2 separate regions of the Homo sapiens genome follow, and region 1 is linked to region 2. Evidence: promoter capture Hi-C in 16 types of primary human blood cells and fetal thymus (Javierre and others, 2016). All regions are on one chromosome and are shown on one strand. Each heading gives the region's core, a stretch centred on a gene start or on the middle of the fragment in contact. The rest is flanking DNA. Distances are from core to core; before and after follow the strand shown. Region 1 holds the start of NUP35 (nucleoporin 35). Region 2 holds the start of WDR75 (WD repeat domain 75).

What was found. The method cuts DNA at HindIII sites, captures the fragments that hold promoters and counts their contacts. A CHiCAGO score of 5 or more calls a contact.
Region 1: a contact is called between a fragment that was not itself captured here and the fragment with the promoter of WDR75 in region 2, in 1 of 17 cell types (total B cells). The highest score is 5.9, in total B cells.

Annotation. Positions count from the first base shown.
Region 1 is chr2:183,122,258-183,127,190 of GRCh38, forward strand. It overlaps NUP35 (nucleoporin 35), which reads left to right and starts at 2,186. Exons shown (of 9, transcript NM_138285.5): 1 at 2,186-2,240. The coding sequence starts at 2,201. LOC124907917 (a long non-coding RNA gene) reads right to left here and starts at 2,700. Exons shown (of 2, transcript XR_007087331.1): 1 at 2,536-2,700; 2 at 1,660-2,450. RefSeq lists an enhancer at 2,236-3,004. The HindIII fragment of the contact is 1,894 bases long and covers 867-2,760 here.
Region 2 is chr2:189,438,436-189,443,694 of GRCh38, forward strand. WDR75 (WD repeat domain 75) reads left to right here and starts at 3,039. Exons shown (of 21, transcript NM_032168.3): 1 at 3,039-3,143. The coding sequence starts at 3,058. It also overlaps a transcript of COL5A2 not described here. RefSeq lists enhancers at 1,905-2,603, 2,375-2,534, 2,555-2,774, 3,035-3,164, 3,185-3,414 and 1 more. The HindIII fragment of the contact is 5,353 bases long and covers 1-5,259 here.

The DNA of each region.
Region 1 (4,933 bases), core at 564-3,063, 6.3 Mb before region 2:
AGTAGAGATGGGGTTTCACCATGTTGGCCAGGCTGGTCTGGAACTCCTGACCTCGTGATCCGCCCGCCTTGGCCTCCCAAAGTGCTGGGATTACAGGCATGAGCCACCATGCCCGGCTGGTGCAAATCTTTTTCAACATCTTCTTTTATTTAAAGAAGTATCACTCTTTTCTCTTTCTCTGCATCTGTTCCTAAATAAACCCGTTATTAAATAAAAATGGTGCCGTATATGCATGCATGTTTTCAAATTACTTTTTTTCATTATATCTATCACAGAGGTCTTTCTAGGTTAATATTTACACTCATATCAAATCCATCTAATTCATTTTAGTTGTTGTATAGTGTTCTTTTGTTTGGCTAGATCATAATTTGTATAGAAATTTCTTTTTTATTTTGTAGAGAAGTGGGGTCTCACTATCTCAAACTCCTGGACTCAAGTGATCAACCCCTCAGCCTCCCAAGGTGCTGGGATTGCAGGTGTGAGCCACCACATCTAGCCTCAATGTGTGTAGAAATTTATACATTGATATACCTTTCTTGGTAGCTTAATTCTAAAAAGTGGATTGCCCTGTGTTGTGGGCTGACTACTCCCCAAAGATATCCATACACTAAGCTTTAGAATCTGTGAATGTTACCTTATATGGCAAAAGGTATTTTGAAGATGTGATTATTAACTTAATCACCTCTACTGAATATTGAAATAGTAAGATTATCCTGGATTACCTGGGTGGGTCCTAAATGTCATCACAAGGCTATGTGATGGCAGAAGCTGAACAAAGCAGTGTCAGACAGACCAAAGATGCTACATCGTTGGCTTTGAAAAAGCAGGAAGGTGGCACAAGCTAAGAAATATAAGTGGCTTCTAGAAGCTTGAAAAAGCAAGGTAATAGATTCTCCCCTGGAGCCTCCAGAAGAAAATAGTCCTTCTGGTACTTTGATTTTAGCCCTACAATACTCATTTTGGATTTTTGGCCTCCAGAACTGTAAGAGATACATTTGTGCTGGTTTAGTTAACCGAGCTTGTGGTACTCCAATGTGACTTTATCTGAACTTTATTACATCTGCAAAGACCCGATTTCCAAATAAGGTCATATTCATAAGTATGAGGGTTAGGACTTGAACATAAATTTTTGAGGGACACAATTCAATTCACACACCCATTTTCAAAAAGTCAATTCGATCTGTGAGTGGTTTTAAAATTTGATTTCTGTGAACCTACCATTTAATTCTGGAATTGTTACTGCCTCATTCCAAAGACAAAATTCTTCCTCCATTTGAGATTTTAGGAAGTCCTAGAAGAAATAGCTGAGCATGGGTGGATATTTTGGAAATAATCCTCATGGTATGGAGCAGAGAACGTCCCCAGTTATACATATGTAGCACATTATTTTATAAAGTTAGTATTTGAGCAAAACTAAACAATATATTTTTACACACACATATGCAGAATATGTGTATGTGATTTACGTATGACTATGCCCTAAAGAAAAGCAGCAAAGTGAGGGGACGTGGACGGCAGGGATGGCACATGCAGAAGCACGCAAGATTCCGCGGTGTGGAGGGTTCGTGGGTGCGTATAATTATCTTCCATTATTTACATGTGTACTTTATGCGTTCGTTAGCTATATTTTTGTATGTTTTAATATGCAACAAAACGGCGTATGAGTTACGCTTTAATGTAAAATTGTCTACATAACACAAAATTTAAAAGAAATGGCATACGGATAGTAGAAAACATGCTTTGAGGAAAAAGCGTCATGTACTAAGTCCAGAAATCGACATTGCAAAGAGGCACCAACTGTTTTCATCAAGCTGACTTTTCCAGGTGCTACTCAGAAAAGCTGACCGATGATAGAGCACTGGGTCAACTCACGCTAATTATGAAACCGTGAGTAAAATAATCTGTGCTTCTATGTAACTTAAGTACCCACAAATCAGGAAGCATTCCCGGATGAAAAGCATTCACAGAACCATACGCTGGTTCGCCACCTTCCCGGTGCAAAAACCCTTTCCTCGGAAATTCTCAGCGCAAAGACTTTGCCCTATTCCAAAATGGCTCCGGCGCCTACAACTTAAGCATAGCGCAGGTCCGGAAGTTACGCAACCCCATAAGGTAGCACGCCGTTACCCGTGGGGAGCGTTTCCGCCATTTTTGAAAATTAATTGGGAAGGTACTGGTTTTAAGTGTAGTTGCCGACGCAATGGCAGCCTTTGCAGTGGAACCTCAGGGGCCCGCGTTAGGTGAGTGAAATATTGCTTTTCCTTGCTGGCACTGCCATCCATGCTCTGGGCCTGGAGGCGGGCAAGACTGAAAGGCAGTCGTCAGGCTCTCGTCTGCTGGTTTCAGTCGCGGAGAGGGAATCCTTGGGTGCCCCCAAGTTCATAGTCGGTCCCCTACTCGACGCGTCGCCTCCATACTGCTACAAAGGTGGCGCCGGGAAGCTGAGGGCCCTGGGAGGGTGAAGAAAAGGCCGTCTGGCGGTGACTGAGCTGTGTTTGTGCCCCCACACGCCAGCCACGTTAGACTGGCCCATACCTTAACCTCCTTCTGATACCCGAGACGCGATGCTGGTTGCTGGATTCCCAGCTGGTTGCTGGTCCCCAGAAGCATCCCTGGGAGGAACTGACCGCGGTACACGTGGGTGGGCGGTGCCCTGAAGTGTGTGGGTGCAGTCCACTGCTTCTTGATCACCGGTGCTTCCAGTTCCTGTTTTGACTCCTCTCTCCCGGGCTTTGCCAAAGGAATCTTGTTATTAATGGAAGCTTGAATCGTGCAACATTTAATCAACCGTGTGGTTGGTAATCATTGAGATATTGACCTTAACAGCAAGCTAGGAGTTCGCACGATATTTCCCGCCTTTATTTGGGGAAAGTGACTCTTAAGTATTGTAGGAGGTATTTTTCTCTAGTAAGTCACGATCTGAATTTTTTTAAAGATTCATTCCCATTATTCATTGCGGAGCCTCGTTGAAATATGTCGTCTTTGAAAAAAATCTACCACTTTAACAGCACGCGGATTTCTTTTTTTCCTGCTGAGTTTTGCGACTTGTGAGAATCGTCGAAAATTTTAGAACGGAAAATAAACCGTCTTACTGTCATAGAGACTTACCTGAAAAGTTAGGTTATAACTTTCTGAGCTTGGAAAAGAGAGCAAATGTAATATATATGGTGTGGAAAGAGTCTTTAGATTTGAAGGGTATGTAATGCTTGCCATGTTTGGTGTAAAATAAGTTCTTTTTGAGAATAGAGTAACTTGAACTACTTTAGTCTGTCATAAAAAAACTAAATGCATAATGTCAATAATGCAGATACTCTGCATTAAAATTTATATATAGATGTCGTCTTGGTATTTATTTTTAATGTATTTTAGAGATCAAAAACTCTTCATTTCCAGTTCCAAATTTTTCTATTCAACAAAAACATTTTGGAGTGCATATTTATTGGGGTTACAAATGTGAGTAAACCAATCCCTGTATATTGCCTTGCCAGAAATCTGACATTAGCCAGTATTAATGTTTAAGTCCACATTTTGCAGATATTCCAGGTGCCCACTGGTGTAGTAAAACTAAGGGTTGACTTCAACAAACTGCTAGCTGAGTACGTATCTTTTGGGAGCACAGAATATGAAATGGAATTGAGGACATGCAGCATCTTTTCCTTAAGTTTGCTTTAAGTGAAATTTAGCCTGAGGGGTGGTTGGTGACAGTCCTGATTAAGAGCCCATTGTGCCCTCCTTCCTGTCTGGTGCTTTCTTTTTTCTTTTCCTTCCTTCTTCCCTCTCTCCCTCCCTCCCTTCCTCTTTTTTGACACAGCCGTGTCACCTGGGCTGGAGTGCAGTCGTGCAGTCTCAGCTCACTGCAACCTCCCCCTCCGGGCTCAAGCAATCCTCCCACCTCAGCCTCCCAGGGGCTGGGACCACAGTGTGCCGCCACTCCCAGCTACTTATTGTATTTTTGGTAGAGACAAGGTTTCGCCATTTTGTCCAGACTGGTCTCGAACTGAGCTCGAGCGATCCACCTGCCTCGGCCTCCCAAAATCCTGGGATTAGAGGCTTGCGCCTTCTACTGTGTCTGTATGTATCCAGATACATCAGAACTTTTCTTAAGCCAATTCTTACTTTATTTTGCTATAATTTTTTTTTCTTTTAGGGAGGGGGAGTGAATGTAGTGAATGTTACCAAAAACTTTGCGTTTAATATGGTATTCTGAATATCTGTTAAGAATATGCTTTTGTTTAGACTTTTGGTTTGATTTTAGTGGATCTTCTTACGAAATATTTCTACAGTGCCATGTAACATAGTAACTAGCACTTTATAAAATAATTACAATGTAATTAGAGTTTTTCACACCTTGTTTTAGCATTTGCTTTATCCATTTATTGAATTTGTTTTTTTTTTTGTCTTTTATACACTTGTATTGTTAATATCTAGGCCTAATATAATGGGAAATAAGAGGAAGACTAAATAGTTGGCAGCTTTCGGATATTAAGAAACAGATTGTTAAGGCCATCTAGAAGTTAAGTAATAGTTAATAAAAAACCATACAAATAACATAGCAAACATTTGACCCTTCTGAGTGCAATGAGTCACACTCAGGCTTGTCACCTAGTTGAAAATTATTTTCATAAGCAGAGATTGCAAATTCTACATTTATACTTTACTCAGTTTTTGCTATTATAAAATATTTGTAGAAAATAATAATTCGTATTTATTGAGCACCTGTGTATCAGGTACCAGGTCAAGCTATACTTGCTATAATTCTAACAAAAGCTCTGTTAGTGGATGCTAGCTATGCTTATTCCCTTTTACTGAGAGAACTTGAACCCACATCTTTGACTCCATAGCCCATTGTTTTCCTTATTCTGCTATTTTGCTCTGAAATTAGAATTATATAGCTCACTCATCTTCATAAGGGAAATAATATCTACTCTATAGA
Region 2 (5,259 bases), core at 1,789-4,288:
TAATTTCTAAAACCTGGGGGTAAAACACATTCAACAAATAAACTGTGAAATAGCCATACAATGGAATACCACTCAGCAATATAAAGCACTGATGCACATAACATAAATGCAATATGCTAACTGAAAGAAGCTAGACTGAAAAGGTTACATACTATATGATACCATTTATACATGGCTTTCTGGAAAAGGCAAAACTAGGGATGGAGAACATTAGTGGTTGCCAGGGGATAGGTCTTGGGGAGGGGAAGGAGAAATACTGGGGAATTCTTTGAGGTGCTGGAATTCTTCTGTATCCTATTTGTGATGGTGGATACGATAATTTGTGCATCATAGATATCAAAGAAAGCAGATTTTATTGTATGTAAATTTTTAAAATTAGCCTAATCGTTTCACTTTTTAACACAAAGGCTACACTGTCTTCAATTTCAGAGTAAAACCCAAAGCTGTTACAATGATCTAGGAGACCCTATGAACTGGCCTCTTATTACCTCTCTGACCTCACCTTTTACTATACCCCCTTGATGATTATTCTCCAGCCACACTGGCCTCTTGACTTATCTTGAACATGGAAAGGAATACTCTTTCCTCTGGCTGACTCTTTCACCAAACAGCTCCATGCTTATTCACACTCTCAACCTTTTCAGGTTATTTCAAATGTTACCTTCTCAGTAAGGCTTTCCCTGAAAACCCATAATAAAGGTGATCAAACCCTTATAATCACTTTCTTTTCTACTTTGAGTTTCCCCTTGGCACATAAATACATCAAAAGTATAATAAGTTTTTGTTTCTTCCCATGATAAGGTAAGGTCCAGTAACATACAGATTTTGTTAACTATTTTTCTCACTCCAGTATTCCCAGAGCCTGAAAGAATGTCTGGCATATACTAGGCACTTAGTAAATATTTCCTGGATGGAAGATGCCAAATAAGTGTTTCTGGAAAATCCTTTTCCTTCTGTATATAGGCTATGCTCTTTCTTGCTATTCCCTTATTTCTTCTAACTGAAAGGAACATGAACTGTGAGCATAAGGACAAAACCAATATGGTTAAGGACAATAACACAAAGAACAAAGTAGAGAAAGCACAGGTCCCTGGTGGCATGAATGATCCACTGCACTAGCCCTATTCTGCCTACCTCAGCCTTCTTGTTACATGATAAAGACAACGCACTATTAATTAAACAGCTGTAGGTGGGATTGGTTCCTTAAAAATTATGTAAAAAGAAATCAAAATACAAATGACTTATCTTTCTGGGCACTTCAGTAAATTAAAACTCTGTGTAAAATAATCCTCCTATACATTTATCAATCCAGCTAGTTTTTGTCCATATCAGGATTTCTGATTCTTTTCTGAAAAATCTAAAGTTACCATACAGTAACATACAACTAAAGTCACACTAATTTGAGTGAAAATATTTATTTTGTTTCTTGGCTCAGGCCCTAAGGAAAAGCCTGTATCAGGTTACAAAGTACCCAACAAAGTCTTTAAAAGATTTATTGTGCATACATCAAGAGACTAAACAAAAAGAGGTTAAGGCTGCAGAATCAAAAGTGATATTTTACACTCCATCCACTGTGACAAAGGGTATCACAGTCATGAAAGAGAAAGCTGGTTACAGCTTGAGATAAACCAAAATTATTAAATATCTCCCTTTCTAGTTCTGGCTCCCCAAATAATAAAGTTTTGAGCACTTTAATAAGCTAGACTCCTCAGTAAAAAGTAAATTTATCCCTGATTTTTACAGTGGTGCTGTCCCAGGATATGTCTTGACCTTTGTGAATATTGTATTTCTCCACCATAAATAAACTTATAGGTATAATCATGTGTGGCTTAATGATGGGGATATGTTCTAAGAAATGCATTTTAGGTGATTTCATCATTGTGTGAATATCACAGAGTGTACCTACACAAACCTAGATGGTACAGCCTACTACACACCTAGGCTGTACGTTATAGCTGATTGCTCCTAGGCTACAAATCTGAACAACATGTTACTGTACTCAATATTGCAGGCAATTGTAACAGAATAGTATTTGTGTATTTAAACACATAAAAGGTACAGTAAAAACACAGTATTATAATCTTACGGAATCACCATGTTATATGCATTGATTGAAAGATCCTTATGTGACATGTGACTATATTTGAGACCTTGGTAATTTTGTGGTAAATCCACAAATCAAGAAGCGAAATCAAAATAGGCAACATAATATACAGGGTCCAAGAATATGATACGTGTAAGTTTACAAAGGAAAACTGGAGATAAACTGGCAAAAATAAACATGTTGAGATTTTAGGGGTTCCTAACCCACAGATTCTATTCACTAATGGGAAAAGGTAAAACTCAGGAAACCAGAGACCAGCGCCCTGAAACCTGGCGGGACTGGCCGAATGTCAGATTAGCCCGAGCAGCTACACTGAACGCTGCGGAAGATGCACCAGAATCCCGGAGTAGGAGCCAGATTTCCAAAGGAAGAAAGCTAGGCCCTAGGACTGTGGAGATTCTGTAGTAACCTAAGCGATGTTCACAAGAACAGAAGAACGGCTAATGAGAGGAACAAAAAGCTGTACAAGGAAGAGAAAGCTACCTTTCCACCCAATAACTCAACGCTGCGACCGAGAAAACCAGGGACGCGAGAGGCTCGCGTCATCCTGCAGCGCCGACACCACAGACACTAGAAAGCGACGCCTCCGGTGGGACGACTGGAGGTCACGTGGTACACTATACGCCACCTTTCCCTTCTGGCGGAAAAAGCCATAGAGTCAGGTTGACAAGGCCTGAGAGAAATATGTCTGTATTAAATAATTGTGTATAGGTATATAATAAAAACTGATTGTCTCTAAATCTCTGTTTTGCTTTCACCTTTTCTTACAAGTGTCTTAGTTTGACATTGCCCACACAAAAGGTGCCTGCACGGAAGCGGAGTCCTACCACCGAGTCTCAGGCCTAGAAGGGCCCGGGGGTGGGTTCTGTGGGCTGGGAACAGCCTTATTACCCGGCTCAACGAAGGAAGTTCAGGGCGGGACCAGAGATTGGCCATTCCGCTACTGCGCAAAGATGGTGGAGGAGGAGAACATCCGCGTGGTTCGTTGTGGCGGCAGCGAGTTGAACTTTAGGAGAGCTGTGTTCTCTGCAGATTCTAAGTATGAGGGGCACCGCGCTTTGTCGGCTGAGGGGCGGGGCGTGAGTTTCTCGAGGGTCGGGGAGAAGGAATTGTCAGTCGCGTTCGGACTCGCCCGCCTGGCGGATATCGGCTTTGGGTAGAGCACGCGCCTGTGGGGGATCCCCAGGGTACCTGGGAGGTCCCGTTACCACTGCAGATTGGGTTGCGTCCCCCGATTCCTGGACAGTTTACCTGCAGGTAGATAAAGGCCCTGGAGCCGGTCTCCGTGTCGAGGATCTGGAAGGTGTTCGGGCGGCTGGAAAATGGTCCAGGGGTGGATGTGTATGCCACTACCTTTGCAGTACCTACTCTTTCGTACAGAATCATGTTTTGGAGTGACTAAAACCTAAAACTATTCCGCTTTTTCTACCCACTCCTCACTCCTGAAGCATAGTGCATGAAGCATAGTGCAGTCTTTTCGGAACTTTACATGAAAACAGATGTTAGATTCTTTATGAGATAAAAATACGCTAAGACTTGGTCTCTTTTCTCAGTGTAGCTGGAAACCAAACCACTCCCTGGCTTCAAAATCCACTTCTTACATTATGAAACCTTTGTAAGTTTCTTAATCTTTGCCTCAGTTGCCATCATCTGTAAAGGGGGACAATATTTAGTTCATCTCACGTGGTTATTGGGAGGATTAAATGCCTCAATATGTTAAAACTACAGACAACAATGCCCGGCACATAATGGCTCAATGTATGTAGCTGTAATCATTATTACTGTATTGTCAGGTTTTCAAATAACTTTAGGTAGGGTGGCACTTAATAAAATCAAAAAACCCTTTCTGCCTTAGAAGAGTAGAGATAGTATTTTATGAAAGTTTGTAGCCTCCACAATATTCTTTTTTTTTTTTTTTTTTTTTTTTTTGATGCAGAATCTCACTCTGTCACCCAGGCTGGAGTGCAGTGGCTCAATCTAGGCTCATTGCAACCTCCGCCTCCCTGGTTCAAGCAATTCTGGTGCCTCGGCCTCCTGAGTAGCAAGTATTATAAGCGCGGGCCACCACGCCCGCTAATTTTTGTATTTTTAGTAGAGAGAGGGTTTCGCCATGTTGGCCAGGCTGCCCTGGAACTCCTGGCCTCAAGTGATCTGCCCACCTGAACCTCCCAAAGTGCAGCGATTACAGTGAGCAACTGTGCCCGGCCCACCCCCACAATATTCTGCATATGAGTGTACGACAGGTAGTTGTTGAAGGTAATGCAAGCATGACTGAAAGAGCTTTTATAAATTGCCTTAGAAGCCAAAAAAAAATGAGTCCTGTGGCTTTGTTGACATTGATCTTATGAATCAAAGGAAGAAACAGGCTTTAAGAGGCTGTCACACTGTGACGCTTCGGACTCATATCCATGTAACCAGTACTGTTCTTATACCTTATTCATTATAATGAGGTCCATTGTGTGTTTGATTTGCTAAGCCCAACAATTCATTTTTTAAGTACTTGTCAACTATATATTATGTATAACATGCTGCAGTGACAAAAACTAAGATAATTTTAATATTGATCCTGCCTTCGAGGAGCTTACAGTCTAGTGAGGAAAAGGAATACTCAGTAACAGATTTTTCTTACTGTGGTCCTGTAGGAAGGAGCTCATAAGAAGAGATTACTTCCCAAACTAAGAAGGACGGAGAAGATTGCTGAGCAAATGACATTTGTGCTAGGCCTAGATGATATTTTAAGTGGGGAATATGGACAGAAGACATTTCAGGTGGGGAGGACAGTGTAAGCAAGAAAGACAGAAGTGATTTCTGTTGAACAGGCTGGTACAGTTAGCTAGTAAGAATGGTATATATTAAGGGAGGTAGTGGGAAATGAGGTTGGAAAGGACACGTGCAGCCAGTTGTTGGTTGTTGTTTGGACCAAAGAGAATGGTTTTTTAATTCTTTAAGGGGACGGCGGTAATCAGTTGTAATTTGATTGTGTTTCTTCAATAATGTTAACCTGAAAACTGTAAAACTCTATGATACATGTTGGTGAGTGGAGAAATGAGAGCTGGGTAGGCTGATGTACATAAAGTACAGTGATGGCATAGAAGAGGGAGTTACATAGTCAGTTTTACCTTCAGTAGTGGTTCTTGCAGCAATGGCAAGAGTTT